Linked DNA regions of Homo sapiens: all the other regions are linked to region 2. The links are contacts of gene promoters, found by promoter capture Hi-C in blood cells and fetal thymus (Javierre and others, 2016). All regions are on one chromosome and are shown on one strand. The core of a region is centred on a gene start or on the middle of the fragment in contact, and the rest is flanking DNA. Distances in the headings are between cores, read along the strand shown. Region 1 has its middle 110 kb from the start of ARHGAP24. Region 2 holds the start of ARHGAP24 (Rho GTPase activating protein 24). Region 3 overlaps ARHGAP24 (Rho GTPase activating protein 24). Region 4 has its middle 82 kb from the start of ARHGAP24. Region 5 overlaps ARHGAP24 (Rho GTPase activating protein 24).

The links. The method cuts DNA at HindIII sites, captures the fragments that hold promoters and counts their contacts. A CHiCAGO score of 5 or more calls a contact.
Region 1: a contact is called between a fragment that was not itself captured here and the fragment with the promoter of ARHGAP24 in region 2, in 2 of 17 cell types (total B cells and naive B cells). The highest score is 11.8, in total B cells.
Region 3: a contact is called between a fragment that was not itself captured here and the fragment with the promoter of ARHGAP24 in region 2, in 1 of 17 cell types (total B cells). The highest score is 8.8, in total B cells.
Region 4: a fragment that was not itself captured here is called in contact with the fragment with the promoter of ARHGAP24 in region 2 in 2 of 17 cell types (total B cells and naive B cells); the score reaches 11.0 in total B cells.
Region 5: a contact is called between a fragment that was not itself captured here and the fragment with the promoter of ARHGAP24 in region 2, in 2 of 17 cell types (total B cells and naive B cells). The highest score is 13.5, in total B cells.

Annotation. Positions count from the first base shown.
Region 1 is chr4:85,359,343-85,362,060 of GRCh38, forward strand. No RefSeq gene overlaps it. Among named protein-coding and RNA genes, the nearest start is that of ARHGAP24, 110 kb to the right of the region's middle. The HindIII fragment of the contact is 651 bases long and covers 1,139-1,789 here.
Region 2 is chr4:85,473,863-85,476,562 of GRCh38, forward strand. ARHGAP24 (Rho GTPase activating protein 24) reads left to right here and starts at 1,288. Exons shown (of 10, transcript NM_001025616.3): 1 at 1,288-1,697. The HindIII fragment of the contact is 5,990 bases long and covers 578-2,700 here.
Region 3 is chr4:85,547,380-85,550,079 of GRCh38, forward strand. The region is part of intron 1 of ARHGAP24 (Rho GTPase activating protein 24); the gene reads left to right. Among named protein-coding and RNA genes, the nearest start is that of ARHGAP24, 74 kb to the left of the region's middle. The HindIII fragment of the contact is 8,939 bases long and covers 1-2,700 here.
Region 4 is chr4:85,391,967-85,394,666 of GRCh38, forward strand. No RefSeq gene overlaps it. Among named protein-coding and RNA genes, the nearest start is that of ARHGAP24, 82 kb to the right of the region's middle. The HindIII fragment of the contact is 3,863 bases long and covers 1-2,700 here.
Region 5 is chr4:85,566,847-85,569,564 of GRCh38, forward strand. All of the region lies in intron 1 of ARHGAP24 (Rho GTPase activating protein 24), which reads left to right. Among named protein-coding and RNA genes, the nearest start is that of ARHGAP24, 93 kb to the left of the region's middle. The HindIII fragment of the contact is 2,912 bases long and covers 1-2,718 here.

The DNA of each region.
Region 1 (2,718 bases), core at 214-2,713, 110 kb before region 2:
TGTTCTTTAATGACCGATATCAGGTGGAACTTTTAGAGAGCTGGAGGTTTATGAAGCACAGTGGCTAGATCTCAACGAATGTAGCAAAAAGAATGATAATTATGCTTTGTTTACTATGGACTATCGTATTTGCTAGTCACTAAGTGCATTATATATTTTATTTCATGTAAACCTTCTAAAGACTCTATGAAGTAGCTGCTATCATTACTATTATGTCTGTTTTACTTAACCTCTTTTATGCCTCAGTTTCCACTGAAGCAGATTTGTGATTGGTGGCCATTACATTTCTCAGCTACAATAAAACAAAACATAAAAATGTTGTGTATTATTTGCATGTTGTTTCAATTGTTTTGCCTCTACTTAACTTCATTCATTACCTATTAATAAACATTACACTAAATATAGACTTTATTCAGAGGTTTTGTGAAGGACCTAACCTAATAAGAGAAAAACAGTAAACTTGAAGAAACAAGACTTTTGTAATGTAGGAACAAGTTACTCAATAGGCATATGTGTAGTTCTTCCATTATATAATATTCATCATCATTCCATGGTTTTGATGACCACATGGAGAATATTCTCCCCAGAATAAACATCTTGTTATTCATTAAAGACTTCTTCCATCCTCTTACATTTCAGTTCCGTCACATTTTCTTTTAAATGAAATTTTATTACTTGGTATTGGATAAAAAAGAGTATTACCTGTAAATTTTATACAATTTTTCTTAATTTAATTTCTAAAATTTATTTAAAATGTCATGAAACTTTATTGAAAATTTTTACTAACTTTCAGCAAAATCATTAAAACCTGGAAAAGAAAAATGCTTCTGCTGTTAAAGCTCCTGCTGCTTCTTTTATTTTAAAAATTCAGACACCATTTTCTCTCTATAGTATTTTGTTGAAGAGTGGCTTTTAGAGTCCAGCTACCTTCATTTTACCTTGATTCACTTCTATTGGCTTCTAGAGCACAGTGCCTTATGACCCAGAATTCTTCTTCCCCTTGATTTTGGGCAAATGGCTTTCTTAATATATAATTATTAGATTTTTTTATTGACCACTAACGTTTGATGAATGCTATAGGCAAATTTAACCCAAACTGATTTAAAAAAAAGCAAGCTTAATTTTCTCGCTTCAAATAAGCTTTGTTTAACTGCAGTATTAGAAGATTTTTTTAAAGTACAGGCATATCTTGAAGATATTCAGGTTCAGTTCTAGACCACTGCAATAAAGTGAATTACAATAAAACCAGTCAAATAAATTTTTTGGTTTCTTGGTGCACATAAAAGCAATGTTTACATTATGCTGTAGTCTAGTAAGTGTGCAATAGCATTATGTCTAAATAATGTTCATACCTTAATTTAAAAATACTTCATTGATAAAAATGCTAATGATCATCTGAGCCTTCAGTGAGTCATAATCTTTTTACTGATGGAGGAGCTTCCTGCAATGTTGATGGCTGCTGACTGAGCAGGGTGGTGGTGGAAGGTTGGAGTGGCTGTGGCAATTTCTTACAATAAGATAACAATAATATTTGCAACACTGATTTGACTCTTACACAAAAGATTTCACTGAGGCATGAGTTGCTGCTTTATTCACATTGAAACTTCTTTCAAAATTAGTCAATCTTCTCAAACCCTTGTGGCTACTTCATTTATCAACCATGCTTATGTAATATTCTAAATCCTTTGTTGTCATTTCACCAATGTTTGTAGCATCTTTACCAGCAGTAGATTCCATCTCAAGAAACCACTCTTTGCTCATCCATAAGAAGCAACTTCTCATCCATTCAAGCTTTATGAGCTTGTAGAAATTTGCCACATCTTCAGGCTTTATTTCCAATTCTAGTTTTCTTGCCATTTTGACCATATCTGTGGTGACTTTCTACACTGAATCTTTAAACCCTCAAAGTTATCCATTAGAGTTGGAATTGATTCCTTCCAATTTCCTGTTAATGCTGATATTTTGACCTCCTCCCATGATTCATGAATGTTTAATGGCATCTCAAATGGTGAATATTTTTTAGAAGGTTTTCAATTTACTTTGGCTAGATTCATGAGAGGAATCACTATCTATGGCATCTATAACTTTAAAAATGTGTTTCTTAAATAATAAGACTTGAAAGTCAAAATTACTCCTTGATCCATGGGCTACAGATTAGATATTGTGTTAGCAGGCATGAAAATAGCATCAATATTCTTGTACCTTTCCATCACAGATTGTGGGATACAGGGTGCATTTTCCATGAGCAGTCATATTTTGAAAGGATTCTTTCTTCTGAGCAGTAGATCTCAACACTGGGCTTAAAATATTCAGAAAATCATATTGTAAACAGACATGCTGTCATCCAGATTTATTGTTGCATTTCTAGAGCATCGGCAGAGTACATTTAGCATAATTCTTAAGGGTTCTAGAATTTTCAGAATGGTAAATGAGCATTGGCTTCAACTTGAAGTCACCAGCTGCATTATCCAGTCCTTTGAAACCAGACGCAGACTTCTCCTCTGTAGCTACGGTAGTCCCAGATGGCATCTTCCAATGGAAGGCTGTTTCACCTACATTGAAAATCTGTTGTGTAGTGTAGCTACCTTCATCAATGATTGCACTGTATCTTTTGGATAACTCAGACGCAGCTTATCCATGAGCATTTGTTGCTTCATCTTGCACTTTTATGTTTGGAGATAACTTGTTTCTTTAAACCTCATAAACCAACCTTTCTAA
Region 2 (2,700 bases), core at 38-2,537:
TAGTAGGACCTCAGCATGGGATGGGGTAGATTCGTTTCTCCAAGAACTTGGAGAAAGAGGACAAAAAGGAAAAACATATCAGTGTCCACTCAGCCTTTTATTTTTGGTGTTTCTAAAACTAAACATTTGCTCTTCTTCCATATCCCTCTCTCACTGGAGATCCCTAGTGAGGACACCCCCATTCTGTGTCTTAAGGATATCTGGTGATGATTTCTAAAAGAGAGTTTCTTTTATTAGTAGTAGCAGTAGTAATTGTTCGAGACGGGGGTGTCACTCCGTCACCTAGGCTGGAGTGCGCTGGCACAATTATAGCTCACTGCAGCCTTGACCTCCTGGGCTCAAGGGATTTTCCCGCTTCAGCCTCCTGAGTAGCTGGGACTACAGACATACGCCGCCACGCCCAACTTTTTTTTTATTTTTTTAATTTTTTTTTTATAGAGACAGGAGTCTCATTATGTTGCCAATTTTGGTCTGAAACCCCTGGGCTCAAGCGATCCTCCTGCCTCAGCCTTCCAAAGTGCTAGGATTGCATGACTGATCCACTGTAAGTGGGTTTCTAAAACAGAGATCTTTACAAAGCTTTTTGAAATAATTTGACTCAGCATGCCAGGTAACCAGAACTGTAAGATCACAATTTGAAACAGACATTGTGGTGATGGTGGGAAGAGACGGCCTGCATCAAAACAATGTTTACTAGTTTGTCCTTTTGTCCCATATTGTGTAACTCCGAGAGTTCTTACACCACCGTAAGAAAGTAATTATACTTTGAATTTCTCTAAGGCTCTAGTTAGAGAGCATCCATCTAAATGTGCATTTCCAGGAATATTGCTTTAATGGCCCAGGTAATTCTAATTGGAGAAATAAAATGTTAGCGAGACAGAGTTGGTAGAAGCAAGTAAAACCGGTGTATGGGGTTTGGCCAATGAAATGCAGAGCTCCTTGAGGGCAGGAGACATGTATTCACCAACCTTCTCGCGCCCACAGCCCCAGATCTGTGGCCAACAAGTATCTATGATGCACTTGAAAGGAACGAGCGATGCCAGATGCGGAGGAACCAGGCAGGGCGCATTCTGTCAGTGGCGCCAGGCGGTGTAGCTCCAGCTCTCAGATAACCCAGGCTTTGGGAGGGCGGGGCTCCTGCCGGCCTCCCCTGTAGTGCGGCTCGAGTCCTGTGAAGCTACCAGTTGCCAAATGAAATCTGAAACCTCGAGCTGTGTCTGAGGGTTGGCCCCACTCAGTTGTTCCAGCCTCTTGTACTGTATATTTACACATTCACACACAATCACCCTTTCTAACTTCTGGGACTCTTTGCGCAACTGCTAGGATTTCTCAAGTGCATGTGGCAACACAGCCCAGCTCCGGGTGGAAACCAGCAGGGCTCTGGAGGGGCTCGGAGACCAGGGGAGCTGTCAAGGCTGCGGCGGGGACCAGAGAGGAGCCTGGCGGGGGTGGCTGGGTGGCTGGGGGAATCCCCCCAACTTCCCATCGCAGGCGCAGCTCTCTCGGCCGCCTATTTCCTCCGAAACCCGCGCTGCGGAGCAGCCCAGTGCATAGAGTTCAACACTTCCCCTTGTTGTGGAAAGTAAAGGAGCCTCACTACCACCTTTTTTTCTTTGCGTTTTCTTACTGCTGGTCCTGGGAGCCTTTTCCTTCGGAGCAGCAGCCCTGTCCGGCATCTGTCTTGAGCTCCCAGCAAGGTAGGTGATGCGGTCGCGAGGAAGTGCGCGGAGCTACCGCGGGAAGGACGGACGCGGCTGCCTGCGCCAGGGGAGGGGGCTGCGGGGGGCGGGGAGGGGGCTGCGGGGGGCGGGGAGGGGGCTGCGGGGGGCGGGGAGGGGGCTGCGGGGGGCGGGGAGGGGGCTGCGGGGGGCGGGGAGGGATCGCAGGAATCCCGTGCTGATGTAGCCTGTCTGTGTTTGTGTGTGTGTGTGCGCGCGCGCGCATGTTTGTGCCGGGAGACAGCAAGCTGGTAGTATGTCTTTCTGGCTTTAAAAATAGATGGAATTAATAAAAACCCTTTGTACAATTCAATTTCCTCTCTTGGTATCCATCCTCCCCTTCCCCTTGTTTGTTTCCTCTAGTATCTTATAGGAGTTCCCTATGTAACAGGCGCACAAAGATAGGTTTTAATAATAAGCATATATATTTGCAAAAATATATATTTTATATGTATAAAATATGTTTTAAAATATTTATAAATATATTACATATTAGAAATATATATTATAAAATATATACATATATTTGTAAACACAAAACGTTAGGGAATCTTTGGTGAATTTGAAGCCACTCAAAAGATTTTGTCCAAATGTTTTTAAAAATAACATTTAATGATAAACATGTAATATGGTCTCGTTTTTAGAAAATACTTAAGACTACATTTATTTTATACGTACCCAAATAGAAGGGAGACAATGTTACTCTGAATTCCTTAGATAGATTTTCAGCATCAACCAGTAATAGGGAGCCCAGACTTCTTTGTAGACTATATCTCGTTTAATTCATTTGAATTAAACAAGTAATTTCTCCAAGTAATTTCTGTTTCCAGCACATTTTATGTTACTCTTTTTTTAACCTTCCACGGCATCATTGTTTCATCTCTTTCTAAAAAGGAAATAAATAAATCGTGCTGAGTATTTGGAATATAAAAGTTGTTAAGGCTTTGCTTATACATAAATACATAAATAAAACAATATGTGT
Region 3 (2,700 bases), core at 167-2,666, 74 kb after region 2:
GTGTTCTCAGCACATGATTTCAGGAGGCACATGATGTCAGTGTATTCAATACTGGCAATGTAATTTTTTTTTTTCAGACAGAATCTCTCTCTGTCACCTGGACTGGAGAGTAGTGGTGCGATCACAGGTCACTGTAGTCTCGACCTCCCAGGATCAGATGATTTTCCCACCTCAGCCTCTTGAGTAGCTGAGACTACAGTCACGCACCACCATGCCCAGCTAAATTTTGTAATTTTGTGGAGATGGGTTTTCATTATGTTGCCCCAGGCTGGTCTCAAACACCTGAGCTCAAGCAATCCGCCCACCTCAGCCTCCCGAAGTGCTGGGTTTACAGGCTTGAGCCACTGTGCCTGGCTGGCAATGTAAACTTTGATCACTGTGTCTGCCAGGTTTCTCCACAGTAAAACGAGTGTTTCACCCTTGCTAAATAATAATTAATTTGTAAGAAGAAACTTTGACACTATTTAAATATCTTTTTTCTGTCAAACTTCTACCTACTAGTTTTTGCATCCATTGTTAATTTGTAATTCCATTATTCCTTTCAAATTGAATAATTGACATTCTGCTGAAAGGAAGAGCTTTCCCATGTCTCTCATTTATTTATTTGTTTATTTATGATATCAATGGGATTCATGTATTCTTGTTTTATTCTATGTCTATAATCCATTATAGCCGTAAATATTTAAATACTATTATTATTTATTCAGATGCTCAAATTTTCCCAGATTTATCCATTGAAAGCCACTTCATATTAGTTTTTGTGCCTTTTGATACCTCCCCATCATTCTTGAGGATTTCCTTACTTTCTGGCACATGTTATTCTAGGCTCATTTTGTATTTTCCTTGTCCACACCCTGGAATCAGCCTTTCATCCACACAGCTTTGCTTCCATTGAGAAGTGGATGGCATTTAGAAGTCAAGATCTGGACACTAGGTGTACTCGTTGCTACTGATATGTTAATACTTCTAGGCCCTGTCAGCCAGAAGCATTAGTGAATATATGTTGATTTTTATTTCTATATCTATGTGCCTATCGATGAAAAACCATGAGTTCATACTGATACCTCTGATTCCAGTCTCAAACTACAGGATGCATTCTGGTGTCCTAATTTTCTCATTTGTAACTCTTTTCCAAAAGTAAGAAACCTAACTTCACATTTGTTATATTCAATATATGTGTCTGTTTGCTCGACTTGGAATACAAGAAAGCAATTTCAGAATTGCTAACCTACACCACAGCCAGAAAAGCAAATCTACTAACTAGAATTCAACTTTTTAACAGCTTTTTGGAATAAAATTTACTAGAGCAAAATAATTTGTGCACAGATATCAAGTGCATAGTTCAGGAAATTAGACAAACATCTAGACCCATGTTTCTCCTGTCTCATCAAGATGTAAGACATTTCCATCACCTTAGAAAGGTCCCTTGTGCCCCTTTCCCGTCAGTATATACCCCTCAGGAGTAGCTAGTTTCCTGATTTCTATCACTATAGGCTAGTTTTGCCTCATCTAGAACTTCTATTTATGGAATCGTGCAGTGACTCTTCTGTATCTGGCTTCTTTCACTCATTATAATGACTGCTGGATTTATACATGTTGTTATATGTATATCTACAGTTTGTTTCTTTTGGTTGCTAAAAGAAACCAAGCCATGCTCTTTGTTTATCTGTTCCCTCTTGATGAGTAGCATTTGGGTTACTTCCAGTTTCTGGCTAATATAAATAAAACTACAATGAACATTTTTGTGTAAATCTTGAGAACATAAGGATTCCATTTCTCTTGGTTGAACGTCTGAATTGGAATCACTAAGTCATAGATACAGGTATATTTAATTTTATAAGAAATTGCCAAACATTTTGTTAAAGTGGTTGCACCATTTACACTTTCACCAGCAATATATGAACATTCTAGTTATTTCATATCCTCATCAACATTTGGTATTGTCAGTCTTTTTAAATTTTAGCCATTCAAATGGGCATGTAATGATACCGGATTGTGTTTATAATGTGCAATTCTCTGATATCTAATGATGCTAGGACTGTTTCATGAGATTATTGGGTATTTCTGTTTGTTCCTCTGTGAAGTGCCTATTTAAATCTTTTCTCATTTTCTTAATTAGATTGAGTTGTAGGAGTCATTTGTATATTATGGATATAAGTTTTTTTAACAGATATATGCTTTGCAAATATTTTCTGACAGTCTCTGGCTTGCCTATACACTGTTTTTCTTTTTAACTTTTATTTCAGGTTCATGTGTAAATGTGCAGGTGTGTTATATGGGTAAATTGCATGTTTCAGGAGTTTCGTGTACAGATTATTTCACTACCCCAGGTAATAAGCACAGTGCTCCACAGGTAGTTTTTTGATCCTTATGCTGCTCCCTCCCTCTACCCTCAAGTAGGCCCTGGCATCTCTCGCTCCCTTCTTTGTGCCAATGTGTACTCAATGTTTAGCTCCCACATATAAGTGAGAACATGCAGTATTTGGTTTTCTGTTCCTGTGTCAGTTCTCTTAGCATAATGGTCTCCAGCTCTATGTTGTTGCAAAGGGCATGATCTCCTTTTTTATGGCTACATAGTATTCCATGGTACATATGTACCACATTTTCTTTATCCAATCTAACATTGATTAGCACTTAGGCTGATTCCACATCTTTGCTATTGTGAATAGTACAGTGATGAACATAAATATGCATGTGTCT
Region 4 (2,700 bases), core at 87-2,586, 82 kb before region 2:
GTAGGCTGACAAATGGATCCATATGGGTGAACATGTGTCAGAACTTTCCAGGAGTGCTGGGACTGGAGGTGACCTCCCCACTTGGGAATTGTACATGGTTTGGATCTAATGTGTATGTTTTAAAAAATTGGATGAATGCTTAACCTATACTTAAGGAGGAAACTTAGCACAGAAAAAATAGGTGATTTAGACGTTTTTATCAAGACAGTAGAAATGAAGGACTTCTGGTTTCTAGTTCTGACTCATAGTGTCCTCTGAGCTGTCATTTTTAACCCACAATGTTTCTGCATCCCCTCTGTCTTTTGCAGACTTTCAACCTTCAAGAGTCACACTTTAATTTATATTGTTTGTGTTGTAAAAATAATAAGTATATTAAACACATGTAAAATACATACACATTCCTCTCCTTCTCGCCAATATTTATATATGCACAGAGGAATTTTCTTCACCATGGCTTTGCTCTGACTGTATGAGAATCAACATCCAAGTGTAAGAGATCTGTTTATATAGTCAGACATATCACTTAAATCTGATTTAATTTGGGAAAACATATCTATTTATAGATAGATATCTATTTATATCTATTTATAGATATCTATTTATATCTATTTATAGATAGATTTCTATTTATAGATATCTGTTTTCTCTGGGTATGCTAGTTTCCTCCTACACCTTCAGAAATGGGCATGTTTGGTTAATTGCTGTGTCTAAATGGTCCAGTCTGAGCAACTGTGAGTGTGTGTGTGAGTACACCCTGTGATGGGATTAAATAATGTAGTTTAATGGTTAATGATAATAATACTAATTAATAATAATAATGACATTGGCTGACACAGAATGCTATGTTACAGGTGCTAATGAATTGTAACATTTTATGTTGTCAATAATCTTTCATAACAGGTTTTTGTTTTGAGTTTTGCATAGATCAGGTAACTAGAGCCCAAACAGGTTATCTTTCTTAAGGTCACACAGCTAATGAGAGAGAAGCTAGTATTAGAAGCCTGCTTTGCTTAACTTCAAATCCAAAGTCTTTATTATTTTCATTGCATTATGCTGCCTTCTTGGCTAGGACCTACCTAGGCACAATGGGGAGGAATATAGCATTTTTATTTCAAAGATAAAGGTTAAGTTTTCAGTACAATAATTTTTTTCTTCATTTGTACATTCATATCTTTTAAATCTCCCTCCCTTCTACCACAGGTATCTAGTTCCTTCATGCTACCACAGGCCCTGCCACGTATAAAGTTATTAATTGGTTATTTTAAAGATGGAAACATTTATGACAATTTTATAAGAATATAGGGAATGGGCAAGGCTTATGCAAATCAGTGAAGTGTAAGTTACAGAATTTTCATTATCGCTTTAGGTTTTAGGGGAACTGGATATTTGCATGAAACTGAAACACTCTAAATATTATCTCTTGACTAATTCCCTTCATGCAAGGATGACTGTGAGGGCGTGGGCTCACCTGGAAAGCTGAAGCTAAACTATCATTCCTCACCACACCCACACACCCACTACCCCAATATCAGGCTGAAGATTTGCTGAATCTGATTTCAGTTCAAATCCCAGAAAGTCCTATGCTTGTAAGCATTTCTATAGAGTACAAAGCATTGGTTTTTATTGCAAGTGCTTCTAAAAAGGTGATGTGAGTCAGAAGAATAAAAGGATGGTTGCACTGTAAGAATTAAGTGTTCTGGATGCAGTGAGACCATTCTTTGCATAAATATGACATTTACAGCTTGTGTTTCCTATTAGGCCTTCTCATAGCTAGGCTTTCTCACAGCTTTGCTTTTTTTAAAAAGCAAAGTTGAGGCTACTTTGCTTTTTAAACATACTTTGTATTCTTAGATAACTGGTTCCAGAACATAATCTAGTCTTATGGACTATGTGTGTGCGTGTGCATATGTGTTTGTGTGATACATGTGTTTGTATGTGTATATGCGTGTGTATATATACGTATATGTCTCAGGGATAGGGCTTTTCCTCAGCCTGCCAGATATGTTACAATGTGTAAAGCTGACATGCTATTATTCAGTGATGAAACAGTATGAATATTTTGTATGGGCTTTTACACCATTTAAGTAAAATATTTTGTGTCTTTCAAAAAATTTTGAATTTATTTCAGAGTGAGAACTGGTAAAAAGTTGGAAATGGCCAACCGTGTCTTTTACACTAGACAGTGCCTCTCATTAGCATGGCTCCCAAATAAGTCATTATCTAAGAAGTCCGTATTATTAAACAAAGTAGAAGTGTATGTCAACAATTGTCAAGAGTTTGAGATTTTATTCTACTGGCAACCTGACAAGTTATCATGCCACAGTTTTATTGATGCCCTAAGTTGTCTCGGGTTGCTATAACAAAATATCATAAACCAGGTGGCTTAAACAACAGAAATTTATCACAGTTCTAAAGGCCGGGAAGTCCAAGATCACAGTACCAGTAGATTCAGTTCCTAGTGAGGGCCCACTTCTTGGTTTGCAGTTTGATGTCTCCTTGCTATACCTTCACATGGTAGGGAGAGAAGGAGCTCTGGTCTCTTTGTCCCCTTATATGGAAACTGTCTTAGTCTGTTTTCAGCTGCTATAACAGAATACCACAGATCGGGTAATTTATAATAAACAGAAATTTATTGGCTCATGGTTCTGGAGTCTGGGAAGTCCAAGGTTGAGGGATCAGCAACTGGATAGGGGCTTCTTG
Region 5 (2,718 bases), core at 74-2,573, 93 kb after region 2:
TAGTGAAGGTTTTTGGAGGAGACAGATTTTAAGCCAAAACTTAGATAAAAAGGAGTTGAGCATGAAAAGAGCCCAAGACAGAGTTTTCTAGGCAGAAATCAGCAAGGGATAAAGGAGCTTGGCTGTTTCCAGAACTGAAAGGAGACAAGAGTGGTTAAGTATGTATGTGTATGGTATGGGGAGGGATGGGGAGAAGGTGGCATGAGATTAGGTTAGAGAGGTAAAGAGGTGCCAGATGATTCAGAGCCTTATAGGCCATGGTAAGACTCTGGATTTTGAAATAAGTACAGTGGGAAGCCAACAACATTTTCAGATGTTGAGAATCCTTATCTGATTTGAATCTTTAAAAGCTCGCTTTGGCTGCATTTTAGAGAATGAAATATGTGTGAGCATGTACCTGTGTGTTTGTGTTTATGGCTAAAAATGGAAGCAGTGAGACTCCTTGGAAGGCTATTAGAATCATCTCCTCAAAAGATAATAGTGGACTGCACCATAAGGTGGCAATAGAGATGAAGCCAAAAGGATGGATTTGAACTATTTTTTAGAGGTATTCTGAATTTACTGATTGATTTGATATCCGGGGTGAGGAAGAGTTATGAATCAAATGATCAGTTTTCTGTATATTTTTCTTTGCAACTGGGTGTATCATGGTGTCATTTACTAAGATCAGGTTTGGGGGAAGATCATGTTTCAAAGGGAGATCGTGTTCACTTTTAGACACTTAGTATGAAACCTATTGCAAAATTGATTACTTCATCAAACATTGATTGAGCTTCACTGCATGCCAGACATCGTACTGAGTAGTAAGGGTATCTGATGTCCCTACACTTATGGAATTACAGAGATGATAGATTTCAGAGTGCTAGAAGAGACCATAGTTGGAAATAATCCAGCCCAGCATCCTCATTTTAAAGATGAAGTGTAGAATTTTAATCATTTTATTTCTCCAGAAATATTAAGACTTCTCTATAAAAATTATGGTTGTTTTAGTAAAACTTAATTTTCCTCATCTAACAATAGTTGTGGCATTTTTTCCCTTAGGCATATAAGTCTGTTTTCATTTCTGTTTTAATGAATTGTTACAATTAGTCTTCAATTAGCATTAGTAAAGCACTTTCCGATGCATTCTGAAATCATAAAAATATAGGCATTATAGTCAGTTCAGTGGGCAATTTGTCATTGACTTCGGTCAGACTTATAAACAACATATGCAAAAGGAATCAGAAACCATGTTCTAGTGTACACACATTTCTCACTAAGGCATTAATGTACACAAAAGGGGAAATATCTACTTGTATTTTTTATATTATCAATGGTAGGTTGCTAATAACCTTGAAGCATTTTAGAGGGAATTTTTCAAACTTCATAGAAAGCATGAATTTGAGAGGAAAGAAAAAATTACCTAAGGGCCCTAAGTAATTTGTTGTGCAATGAATTCTAGATTTGTGTGTGCATGTTTGTTGCGGGGGGGAGGGGGGCGTGTGTGTGTGGTGGAATGTTTGTTTTAAGGTCCCATTTAACTTTATAAATTAAGGTGTTTGGTCAAAGAATAAATAGGCAGTGATGAAACAGCAAGTTGTGTAGATTTAAGCAGTTTAAATACCAGGAGATGAAAAAGATTATTTAGGGTGGTCTAGCTAAGCATACTTATTATCTAAATTACCTTACAGCATTAATTGTTCAGTTAGAGTGGAGTTCTTGGCTCATCATAGTAGGTCGGGTACTGCGAAAGAAAGGAGATGAAAGTTCCTGCTCTGCAGGGCATAGCAAATTGGAGGCATCAGGCATGGTCCAGTCTGCAGACACACGGGCACACACCTGAGGGGAGAGTGTTTTCTGCAATAAGTGGTTATGGTCATGGAATGCCCCATAGAGCAAAGGAAGTGTCCAGACGTATTGTAGAGACAGGGGCCTGTTTTTTAAGAAAGGAAAGAAGTGCGTATTGAATGAGACAGAAAATAGTCAAGTGACCTCCTTGAAGTTTAAAAGTAGTTTAAGAGGTGAAGATTAAGGCAAGGATAGTGATAGATTGAAATATATGCCAGTGAAGGAGGCAAATCTTCTGCAAAGATGGTTGAAGTTATTAAAATAAGAAGTAATTAGAACGAAAGTTCTGCTTCATCCCTGCAACAGGAATGGCAGGACTAAATTGAGAGAACTTGAAGTGCAATTATGGAAGATTTGACCCTGAGCCTTCAAGGAAGAAACAAAAATGACCAAGGGCTGACAATAGAAACTTCATGGAATTTATAAGTAGAATTGTATACATGCAAATTGATTAAAAAATAGTGATGAATATAAAGACCAGACAGAAAGACAGCTTGTCTTCCAGAATTGATCAGAAATGATAAAACAGGGACTTTGTTTATATGCCTGGACAGGAATAATCTACGTTTTATCAGATAATATATGCCTGGACAGGAATAATCTACGTTTTATCAGATAATCAATATCTTTATAACCTCATCAAAGACACAAGAGTTAGAGAGGGCTTCCCAATTCCTGAATAAATGTTTAGAAATAAACATTAGCAAGAATTTGGAAGAAGATTTTGGGACAGGAAAATCTCTTTTAACCACTTGTCCCTGGCTCCCCCAGAATGTCCACCTTCTCTGTTCTTACTGGGGCAGTTTTAGCATCTCACCTGTTGGTTAATATTTTTCCAATGAAGAACTCATTTTCTTGCTTATGTATAGGTAGTATGGCCGTATACTCCTT